4 separate regions of the Homo sapiens genome follow, and regions 1, 3 and 4 are each linked to region 2. The links are contacts of gene promoters, found by promoter capture Hi-C in blood cells and fetal thymus (Javierre and others, 2016). All regions are on one chromosome and are shown on one strand. Each heading gives the region's core, a stretch centred on a gene start or on the middle of the fragment in contact. The rest is flanking DNA. Distances are from core to core; before and after follow the strand shown.

Evidence for each region. The method cuts DNA at HindIII sites, captures the fragments that hold promoters and counts their contacts. A CHiCAGO score of 5 or more calls a contact.
Region 1: a contact is called between a fragment that was not itself captured here and the fragment with the promoter of RTL9 in region 2, in 4 of 17 cell types (non-activated CD4 T cells, activated CD4 T cells, naive CD4 T cells and 1 more). The highest score is 6.7, in non-activated CD4 T cells.
Region 3: a fragment that was not itself captured here is called in contact with the fragment with the promoter of RTL9 in region 2 in 6 of 17 cell types (total CD8 T cells, naive CD4 T cells, naive CD8 T cells and 3 more); the score reaches 7.3 in total CD8 T cells.
Region 4: a contact is called between a fragment that was not itself captured here and the fragment with the promoter of RTL9 in region 2, in 2 of 17 cell types (activated CD4 T cells and non-activated CD4 T cells). The highest score is 6.4, in activated CD4 T cells.

The regions. Positions count from the first base shown.
Region 1 is chrX:110,203,439-110,206,138 of GRCh38, forward strand. The region is part of intron 3 of AMMECR1 (AMMECR nuclear protein 1); the gene reads right to left. Among named protein-coding and RNA genes, the nearest start is that of SNORD96B, 20 kb to the right of the region's middle. The HindIII fragment of the contact is 2,983 bases long and covers 1-2,700 here.
Region 2 is chrX:110,357,519-110,360,218 of GRCh38, forward strand. It overlaps RTL9 (retrotransposon Gag like 9), which reads left to right and starts at 1,330. Exons shown (of 4, transcript NM_001385449.1): 1 at 1,330-1,398. It also overlaps a transcript of AMMECR1 not described here. The HindIII fragment of the contact is 7,244 bases long and covers 1-2,700 here.
Region 3 is chrX:110,181,552-110,184,251 of GRCh38, forward strand. It overlaps a transcript of TMEM164 not described here. Among named protein-coding and RNA genes, the nearest start is that of SNORD96B, 42 kb to the right of the region's middle. The HindIII fragment of the contact is 5,837 bases long and covers 1-2,700 here.
Region 4 is chrX:110,144,972-110,147,671 of GRCh38, forward strand. All of the region lies in intron 5 of TMEM164 (transmembrane protein 164), which reads left to right. Among named protein-coding and RNA genes, the nearest start is that of MIR3978, 64 kb to the left of the region's middle. The HindIII fragment of the contact is 4,211 bases long and covers 1-2,700 here.

The sequences.
Region 1 (2,700 bases), core at 96-2,595, 150 kb before region 2:
GTATACAGAGCTAAAGATCAAAATTAAAAGTTCTTAACTTCTTTGTGAACATTGATAATAAAAACGAAATTTCAAAAGCATAATGACACCATTCTGTTCTCTTGGATCTGTGGTTGCCTCAGATCAATGGTTCCCAAGTGGAGGGTCAGGTTGTGCAAGGTACTGGAATGGAGATGTAAGACCAGGTAAACATTATTACCCAAGATGGAGGCTTCTTTTCAGAGCAGGTGAGTAAAGTCATAAACCTTTATACTTTCCATGTGTATGGATGTAAAGGTCTAGAAGAGGAAAGGGGGTCAATGAAAACTTCTTTTGCTTCTTCTACCCCCAGTCTCAAATTTTCCAATTTTTTCAGGAATAAAAAGTCCTCTGGGAAAATCCATTTCATCTTTCCCCAGGTCTTCACACATCTATCCATTAGAGCCTGTCAGATCTTCTGAGGAATTTATGGTTTTTTATTTTTATTAAAGCATATCTCTGGCTATTTCTTCTATCTATTTAATATCAGTACTCTTACGAATCTCTTTCTGCTAAAAATGCGACCAGGGTAGCTGTTTAAAAACTAACACAATACTTGCCTCCCATACTGTGTGGGAAATAACTACGTATATAGCTGAGAAGAAATATGAGCGCTTAGCTATCAGGCATTTCCAGGATAAAGGACATCTACTAATCTCTCCAGTGCCTGATGAGACAATGACAAATTTGCAAAATTTCCTGTATACTGACTTCCTGATCAGTAGCTTTGAATTTTTTTTTCCTTTGACAATATCAGATTCCTCATAATTTGTTTTTTAAAAGATACACAGCATAAGTAATTTATACTCCATCATCCACTGAAGTGAATTTTGAATCTTCAACTCTATTTATCAAAAACCCGTCATGTTAAAATTGAAAAGAATTTTGGTGTTTATTAAGGTGTCTAGTCAAAATTGTGATAGGAAGAATGTCTCCCTATCTGTGAGATGAGAGTGTCAGACAAAATTAATGATATTTAACTGGCAAGGGGTGGGGAGCGGGGCTGCAAAGTTTATCAGAATTTCAACAAATACGTTTTGGAAAAAGAACAGCTCCCCAGGTAATTTTTATTCTAATTGAACTAGATAACCTCTAATAAGCATTCTAGTTCTGACAAACTGTGGCTACATACTAAGATTTTTAAAAGTGATTTAGGCAAATGGGGTTAATTTAGACACTTAAGTCCTTTCTTTATAGGAGTACATCCTGTGTTCTTGAACAAAAATATCAGATTTTTAATGTCTAGTAATTTAATAATTAAAAGAAGTTAAGACTGATTGTATGGTATGTGAATGGTATCACAATAAAGCTGTGTGTGTATGGATACAAAGGACATATTGGCCAAAACAAAAATTACTCACGAATAAGACTGCTTTATTTACTCTGCATTTTGAGAAGGTCCTACCATCAAATTTGATAAGAAAAAAACCCCAAATTCTCCAATTTTGATTTAGTACCACATTTACAACTTTTAATTCTTTTCTGGGTTCCTATGACTCTGAACAATTGAAAGCCCCTGTAAATTGAACTGTAAGTATAGTGGTTTTAAAGTGAATTCTTTTTATGAACTTTTTTCATAGGTCAAAAATACTCCCACAAAGCTACAAAGCCCAAACCAGAGTGACTCATTTTTTTCAGCTAGTAGAATTAGGAGAATGGTAATAATGTTCTTAACAAAATCATAGTAGCTTTCTTTCTGTTACCTCTTGAGCAACAGCATTTTCTTTACTCCTAGAACCACAAGCCACTAAATAGTCATACTGAACAATCAAAACAGGAGAAGGAGAACATGGCCTGCTGTGGAGAATGACCAATTCTGGCCAACCTGTGGAAATCACTGGCTTTGCAATGAAATGAGCACCAAAACTAATTCCATATTGTTTCAGGGAGGCATCTGTCACAGCTACAACTCCAAAATGTAACCCTCATGCATAATTGAATCTTCCCTTATACATATTGGAGAATCCTCTGGCCCAGCAACATCCCAAGAGACAAAGGCTATAGTTGCAATTATAAACTAGATAAAAGATCAGCGAACCAGGGAACTGGGATTCCCCGAAGCAGATCTTTAAAACACTACCACGGTAACTTTCTACGTATGGATGAGGGGGCAGCATGTGGGAATACTATGTCACTAAACATACCCCTAACTAATCCTGCCACTGTTTGAAGTACAGCCAGGTGGGTACAAACTGGAAACTTGCAAATCTAGCCTTATGGGTCTGCAGGTCATTTTCAAAATTACTAGATGGTCTATGAAAAAAATGCTTTCGAGGTCCATCAGTTGCGATAATATTCTTTTAATCAAGACTACTTTTGCTAAGCAAAGCTAAAAATCAACCCCAATGGTAGTAAATTAAATGTAGGACTTATAGATAAGAGGATATGGAATTAAGCAGAGCTGTATCTGTGTGTGCTGATAGAACATTAAGACCAGTTCAACGGATTCATATTTCATGCTAAAAAGAAAGCCATATTTATTCTGAACCATTCCATAGCAAGTGATTTTTATTAATGCTATTATACAATCTTTTGTTTTTAACATTGTTCAGAATGATTAAATATCAAGATTAATGTTAAGACCCTAAAATATATCTTGATTATTCTGGGGTTGATTATCCAGTTTAGGGATTATGCATCCCCAGCTCCACCTGGCCTCAGCCCCATCCTCTTTCGTCTCTT
Region 2 (2,700 bases), core at 80-2,579:
CCAAAAATAATTAAATTATTTGGTAATCATTCTTCCTTGCTGTAGGCTTTAAATAGTATTAGATCTTTGGGCATGAAATATATTTAATCCAGTTGTTAGATATAGTTACATTTTCAAAGCTGGATGAATCTTGTATTCTCACTGAGTACAGTTCTCCAACTGATGTGTCAAGGATGATGCTTGTATAACTATAGGAGGGAAATCCTCTGTGATTAATGCATGCAGGAGAAAATACTATGCTCTTCCCTGTGGGTGCAGGGCATGTTTCTACATACCCACATTGTGTGGGAAGCAGAGTGGTTATACTTGCCCTTCTTGGATTTTTTCTCAAGGCAAGACCCTGGCCTCATCCTCCAAATGCATGTTCCAGTCCCTCTCTCACATCAGGGGTGTTTACGAGACTGACTTGGATAACTTTTGCAAAATATACTTGCCTGGCCCTCTGTCTCCCCATTGGACATTTGTTTCATGAGGAGTATCATTTCTAGGGTAAAAGCAAGGATTTTGAAAAAAAATTCTTTGCCATTTTATCAGAAGAATTATATTTAATGAAATTAAAAATAAAAATAGGTGATTTTGATGTTCACCCTAGGCTAAGAGGACCACTGCTGTCTTTGAGGCATTTACAGACATATGGAAATCTGAAGCATACTTAGAGTTGCGGGTTCTTTCTCTGTAATTCTTTTAAACTGGGCATAAACCTCAAAGGGAGTGTAAAATGCAGAGTGTTGTCAACTTATCACACCAAGAATATTTTTTTGCACCTTTTTAGTTTGGAAGGGTCAAATTGAGATGACAGAGGAATAGTGGATAAGAGCTATAGTGCTATTAAATTACATTCTAGAGTTGGGAAAATCGAGACCCATAATCCTAGGAATTATTAATGATAAGAGCTAACACTTTCTGAGTGCTTACCACATGCCAGGCCCTATACTGAATGCATCATGTCCATTTTCTCATTTGATCCTGACAACCACCTGTGAGGCCTCATTTTGAAGACAAGCAAGCTGAGGCTCAGACCTTGGATTTGTCCAAGGTCACTCAGTTGGTCATTTACAGAGCCCTGATTCAAACTCTCTTTTGCTTGATTACAAAGCCATTGCTCTAAAAGATTAGATTATACTGTCTGTATTTGCTTCTGGGAGCTTATGGAATTCACTCCTATCTGTTCTCACAAGGAACTCTATTGGGTTTTGAAAAAGGCTAAAGAATTGAAAAGAAACTTTGTAGGCTGGGAAACATAGTGTCCTTTGAGCAGTGAGATAGGCTAAGCTCAGAGGACTGGGCTCTGGAATGTGGAAAGGAGACGTGCCCACTGGAGAGCAAGTCAGAACTTTCGTGAGCCCTGCTCCAGGTCCCAGGAGAAAGTGCCAGCCATGAGGACTGGAGTATTGCCTGGTAAGGAGAAGATTATTATTTTATCTAACACGTTCTTCTATAACGCTCTATATGCTAGGCACTGGTCTGCACTGCTCTAAGTACTTTATAAGTATTAACTCCTTTACATCTTATAACACTTCCCTGGAAATAGGCATTATTATTGCCCCCATAATACATATGAGTAAACTGAAGTTCAGAGATGTTAAATAACTTGTTCAAGGTCACATAGCTGGTTAAGTGCCAGAGCCAGGCTTTGAACCTAGGCAGTCTGGATCTAGTGGCTGTGTTATACTGCTTCGCAACAGAAACTTGATTTTTCTTTCTTCTGTGTTTATCATCCTTTCTCAATCACTCCTGGGCAAGTCTACTTTGCTAGCAAATTTCCCTTACCCCTTTGGCTTTTTTTTCACCCATGAACCCTCTAATGTTTTCTGCAGCTTCTTTGAGCTCATTCTTTATCTTCCACACTGCCTCTTTTGGCATTACTCATGAACGACATGCTCTTTTCATCTGCCAAATATTTTTTCCATAAATTATCCCATCTCAACTTGGGAAGTCACAATGGGAAGTATTGTTCCTATTTTGTGAATGAGGCAACTAAGGCAAGCAACTTTCCTGAAGTCTCACACAACCATCTAGTGGCAAAGTGCACTAGAATCCAGATTCTCTGATTCTGAATCTAATGTTCTTGTCCATTGCACCATCTGATGGAATTTAACTATCTATTCATTAATTAATTTATTCATTAATATTGTAAAAATATACTGAGTGTCTTACTGTATGGTAAGGCCCTGGGTGCAAAAGTCGGTATAAAAATTGTTGCTCTTAAGCAACAGACAACACAGAGAGATAAGGTCTCACCATAAAAAGTTAAATAGCAGCACATATACTAAGTGCCAAATGAGTGGTCTGGTCACATCATACAAGAATTTTGAGGTTGGATATGTAGCATCAAAGACTGCTTTATCAGAAAGGTGAGACTTGAACTTGGCATAGAAGGGTACTTAGAACTTAGAGAAGAGAATGGAGCAGCACTTTCCAAACTCTGGGAATGGTGTGCATTAAAGCAGTCCTTCACAACCTTTATTGTGTCATGGCATGCAGAGAAAAGCATAGTATTTGTAAAGCACACTAGGCTGAATGGAGGAAGCAGTTTGACATCTAGAGGCAAGCATTCTAGGAGTTTCAACAGCACTGTCTCTGGGCTCAGTTGAGGACAGAGAAGAAATCTCATAGCCTCAGACACTTGTAATATGTTTGGGAAGGTCTGCACTAGGTATTGGGGGCACACTGTGGTCATGGTGGGTCTAAAGACCACTG
Region 3 (2,700 bases), core at 110-2,609, 180 kb before region 2:
ACAACCTCAGTAGTTATGTCTCTATCCTTTCCCTAAATAATAGTTGTTGTCCTGTAGTAGTCAAACCAGCATTGTAGCAGGACTGAGCAGGCAGGGCCTGCTCTCCCAGTTCTTCCCTTTCAGGTCCCGAGTGCCCTTGGCAAAGTCATACCTTTCCTGAACTCCATTTGTAAAATAGTAGTAAATATCCTTGTCTAGCTTACCCCACAGGACATCTATGAGGAATCCAGTGAGACCAGTGGGTGTGAGAGGGCTCTATAAAGTTCTGTCCAGTGGAAGGGGTTCCTATTTCCAGACAGTTTGGTTACTATGCTTGTTCCCAGAGCACAGAGGTTAGCTGGGGTTTTGACTGCACTCATACCCACTCTGCCTTAATGTGCCCTGTGTGGTTGCGGTCTGTGGTGTGTATGTGAGTGGGTGTTTGTGTGTAGGACAGGTGATACCTCAGTTTATTTCATGGACTCTAAGACACATTTTTTTCACATTTTAACATCACTAAAATTGGAATGCATCTTAAAATCAGTGGCATGACAGTTTAATCAGCACCTTTTTTTTTCAGCAGTATATAAAATAACAGACATCTTATAATCTAAGGCATATTAGAGTCAATGAAATACTGTAATTGTTAACTTAGACTCCTCTTCCTCTTCTCCCATGAAAGTCATCTTCTTGCTAGAGAAAACCCTTTTGGAAAAATATACAGACTTTTAGCATACAGCCTCATTCTAACACTCCTCTTTTTCTTCCCTGCCAGCATCCACCCAGGCCAGGCAAGGCTTCTGCTTCTTGACCAGAAGGGGACCCACTTTGTTGAGCTCTCTCTTGGGACAGATGGTTTGTGGGACATGAGAGGGAAGAGGCAGAGTATACCTGCATAAGGGAGCCCACCGTGCCAAATGACAGGGAAGGAGTCAGACAAGCTAGGCCAGCCAGCCCCAATAGCTCTGGTTTCTTTCTTTCCCCAACAGCAGCCTGGCCAGACAACTCAGCCTGCTTCCCTGGGGAACTCCTAGGGCTAGTCATTGCCAGAGGTGAGGTGAGCTGGCAGAAGTAGGGGTGGGGGTGTGAAGCCCAATGTGTCCTGAACTCCCTGGGTTGATGTGAGTGGCTGTCTGGCCCATGCAGAAGAACACAATGATTTCCCTACCTCCTCCAACAAGGTGGAAGAAGAGTCAGGTAGTAAGCCTTTCAAGGAAAAGCAGCACTTTGTCCTAGGGCACCCTGAGCCATGGGCATTTCACTGCAGTTAGGAATTGCCACCAACATCCCCTCAGTCCTGGCAGTCACTCAAATTAAGCTCTGCCCTTGTAACCTTTAGGCCAACCTCTTCCAGAAGGGAAGAGGAGTGTCTGCATAGTGAGATCTAGGGATACTTGGTCACAGGAAGCCGCTTTTGGACATTTCTCCCCCAGAGAGCTTAGCAAGACATGATCAGCCTGGATTACAGCTGCCCTCACGTAACTGGGTTAAAGTGTTGGCCTACTTAGGCCCCTCCTGCAGTGGCTTCCTTCAAAGCTGATGAGGCCGATTAGGGTGCTATTTCTGAGATCTAGTCGTGTACCCAGAAGCCTGAGGGCGGTCCTCCCCTGACTAGAAAGACAATGACTAAGGCTGGACAGCCAAGGGCAGAGTCAGATTTGCCCATAGGAGAGCACTGCCGTCAGAACTCATGTATGCTTGTAAAAGAACCAAATAATATCAAGGCTAAGTCCCTGGATTTTGAACTTCAAAAACCAAACCAACCAATCAGTTTTCAGGGATAGGCCTAGTCCTACACCTTTGCCATCTTCAGAGCTAAAGAGAGATAGCAGATCGTCAAAATAAAATCTTCAATTATAGTTGTAGTCACTAGCCGCCACTCAGTAGGTTCTGTGCATTTGAGATTGTTAACTAACCTCTGAGCCTCAGTTTGCTCATCTACAAAATGGCAATAATGATAGCATCTACCTCATAGGCTATTGTGAGGATTGAATAGAAAAGGCACATAAGGCACTTGGCACAGTACCTGGCAGCACATTTGTTAGATACCACCACTACCATCACCACAACCATTACCACCACCATTGTCACCATCATCATCCTCATCAAGACAACAGTGAATGGGAAAAAGCTCAGTCTCTGGAGCCTGACAAACTTTTTTTGAATCCTGGCTTTGCCACTTCACAGCTACGTGGCCTCAGATAAGTGACAACTTCTTTGAACTTGATTCTTATTCTGTAAAATGGGAAACTCATAAGGCTATTGAAAAGTGTATAACATGGTTCTTCACAGTAAGCACTCAATAAATGTTAGCTATTATGATTATTAAAAAGGAGTGATCAAGGTCAGTGGTTGCCTGGTGTTAGGAGGATACAGAGATGAATGGGCTAAGCACAGAGGGTTTCTAGGGCAATGAGACTACTATTCTGTGTAATACTATAATGGTGGATACATTTCATTATATATTTGTCAAAACTCATAGAATATACAATACCAAAAGTGAACCCTAATGTAAACTTTGGACTTTGGATGATAATGATGTATCAGTGTAGGTTCATCAGTTGTAACAAATGTGCCACTCTGATACAGGATGTTGATAGTGGGGTAGGCTGTGTGTGTGATGGGTGTATAGGAAATATGGGGGAACTGTCTATACATTTTGCTCAATTTTGCTGTGAACCTAAAACTTCTCTGAAAAATAAAGTATATTTAAAATGAAAA
Region 4 (2,700 bases), core at 11-2,510, 210 kb before region 2:
TTCAGCTGCCGCTTGACTGAGTTTCTTCAACATAATTTATGCCGGGCACCAGGAAGTGGGGAGATGGGAATGGACGAGGCCTGCAAGGGGTCTGGGGACTTTTTAGACCCACCCTTCACTGGGTGACTATGGTGCTGCTGACTGTCTGTCACAGGGCCTGGGCTTTGGGTTCTTGATGGTGGCATTGTGTTTGCATGGAGCCCCCCACACTGTCACCTTCTTGTACTTGTGCCTTCCCCCTGCCTCAATGTGCAGTGTGGGATAGAAGGAGAGAGTAAAGCACTCGGTCCCCTCAAGAACAAAAGAAGATATTGTAAGGGGCAAGAAGTCCGGGGACCAGGGCAATTATGGGATTGAGGGGAGAGGCAGGTGAAAGAGTGGTGGTCACCCATGTAAAATAAACCACTGAAAACCTTCATTTGGTGAAGAGGGAGAGACCACCAACCTGGTAGAGGCAGCCTGGAAAGGAAGCTGATCTATTTGTAACCTCTCAGTGACCCTTAGATTATCCCTTCCCTCTATTGTGTAACAGACAAAAGGAAAGGGGTGCCTATCCATCTAGGCTTGTTGTGAGAGCCACTCCTTCTCAGTGTTCTTTACTTTCTGAAAGGCCCTGTGACTGGAAGTCATCCTCTTTTAGTTTTAGCCCCAGCCTCTCTATCTCAGTTGCTGAGACTTTTCTGCTCCTACCTCACTCCAGGCAGCAAGGGTTTCATTTCTACCATACTGAAAGTGGCATGAGGCCACATGGGCCCTTGAGCTCACTGGAAGATAGTCTGGGAGTTCTGCTGGGCACTGCTGCTTCTTGGCTTATGCGTGGATGCTCTAAATCAGGCATTCCGGCAGATCTTAAGATCTGGTGTGAGATAGCCCCAAGGACTGGTCAACCCAGGAACATATTACAGGATGGAGTCTACTTATAGTCCAGAGATTTGCCTCCTATGCCTTGATTTCTATCAGTTCTCCATACTTGCCTAAATATTCTTTGAGACTGCTTTTACCCTGTGCGGCCACTTGGGGTCTCACGATGTCCCAAAACACTTCCTTTTAATTTGCTGTAAAAGCACTATTTTCCTCACGAGGCTTTAAGGAAAGTCTGAAGTTCCAATATCCAGGAGACTTGTGCCATTTCTCAGGTCTGTCCCCTGTGGCACAGGAAACAGCCTCTTAATATTAAGTCTCAGAAATACACACATTCTGAATAGAACCAGGCAGATAGGTGTTCCTGGGCCTCAGAACCCTGCTACTCATCGTTCCTGGCTTCTGAGGTGTGTGATGGAAGTCCTAGCCAAATCTGCATGGCTGTTATTTAAACATATTTGTACTCTAAGGTCACCATAAAAATCTGTCAGGTAGCTGGGTTAGACTGGTCTGACATGGAAAATACCAAGTAGCCATCTTTCCTCCCTCCAAAAGAATAATCCAGGAAGCCACATCCTCAAGACTTGGCTAACTCTAAGATAATTGTATCTCCTTAGAGCAGATCCTCCCGATAGCCCAGTTCCCTAAGTGGCGAGGTGAGAGATAGTAGGGCTGTAATGAGAGACAGTATGCTCTGTTATTGCTAATAACCAATAGATACCCTGGTGCAGTGAGGGTTTAGCTTGCAGCACCAGTGGAGTGATCTCACCAAACTGACTTTTTACTCCAGGACCTCAATGAGAGCATCTACCACCCCGCAGAAGTTGATGGGCCCCAGTACCTTCTATCTGGCCAACTTTGAGCTATTTTGAGGGCTCATCTCCCATCTCCCTTTCCAGCTCTTTACTGCCATCTGCTGTTCACTTGGGGGGAATTATGAGCATTGAGAGAAACATCTGGATTTCTTCACCTTTGATCCCAAGCCTTGGACCTAGGCCTTGCAGAGGGAGAATGGATCTGAAGCAAGCTGTCAGAAGATTAGTTTTCTGTAAACCAAGAAAGCCGAGAGTCTGGGGCTTCTGTTCCCTAGAAGTCGCTTGTAATTTTGTAGAAATAAATGGCTTAGCAATTTTTACCCAGTACAAGACAGCTCTCCTATAGGTATCTCCCATGCCCAGGAACCCTGTTTTCCTGAAAGGCAAGGTCCTGCTTGAGCATATAGTGCCTCTTCCTATGGTTTGGGGTGGGTGGGTAGGTGGCGCCTTGTGGGAAACCCACTCATCCCTTATTGTTGCAGACCTTATGCACTGTCACAGTACATGGGACCTCTCTCATCCACACTGCTCTTTTCTTCCTCTGGCCTGTCCCTTCATTTCCCTGTTTCCTTTCCTTCAAACTTGTTGCCTGTGGCCCTCTGGAACTCTATTTCTTTTTTTTCTGTGTTACAGTATTTTTAAATTTAATTTTTATTAGATACTGACAAATTATGCTTTTATATATGTGTAGGGTACAAGGTGATGCTACGCTATATGTATACAATGCAGAATGATTGAATCAAGCTAATTAACAAACTATATTTCTTACAAACCACTCCCAACCCCACCGGCAGCTCTGCATGGGGCACAGAGCCTTCCTGTCTCTTGCCTACAGCTTCCTCTAATGGAGGCTGCTCTTTCTGCCCTGCCCCATATGCTGCAGAGCCCCCTCTGTCTCTTCTAGAGCACTATCTCATCTGTACGTTAGGGGAAAAAGGCTTTCTCTTTTACTATTCTCTCTCTTTTTTTTTCATCACCACCATCACTTGACCTCTTGGTCCCTTCCCCTATATTCCTAGAAGTC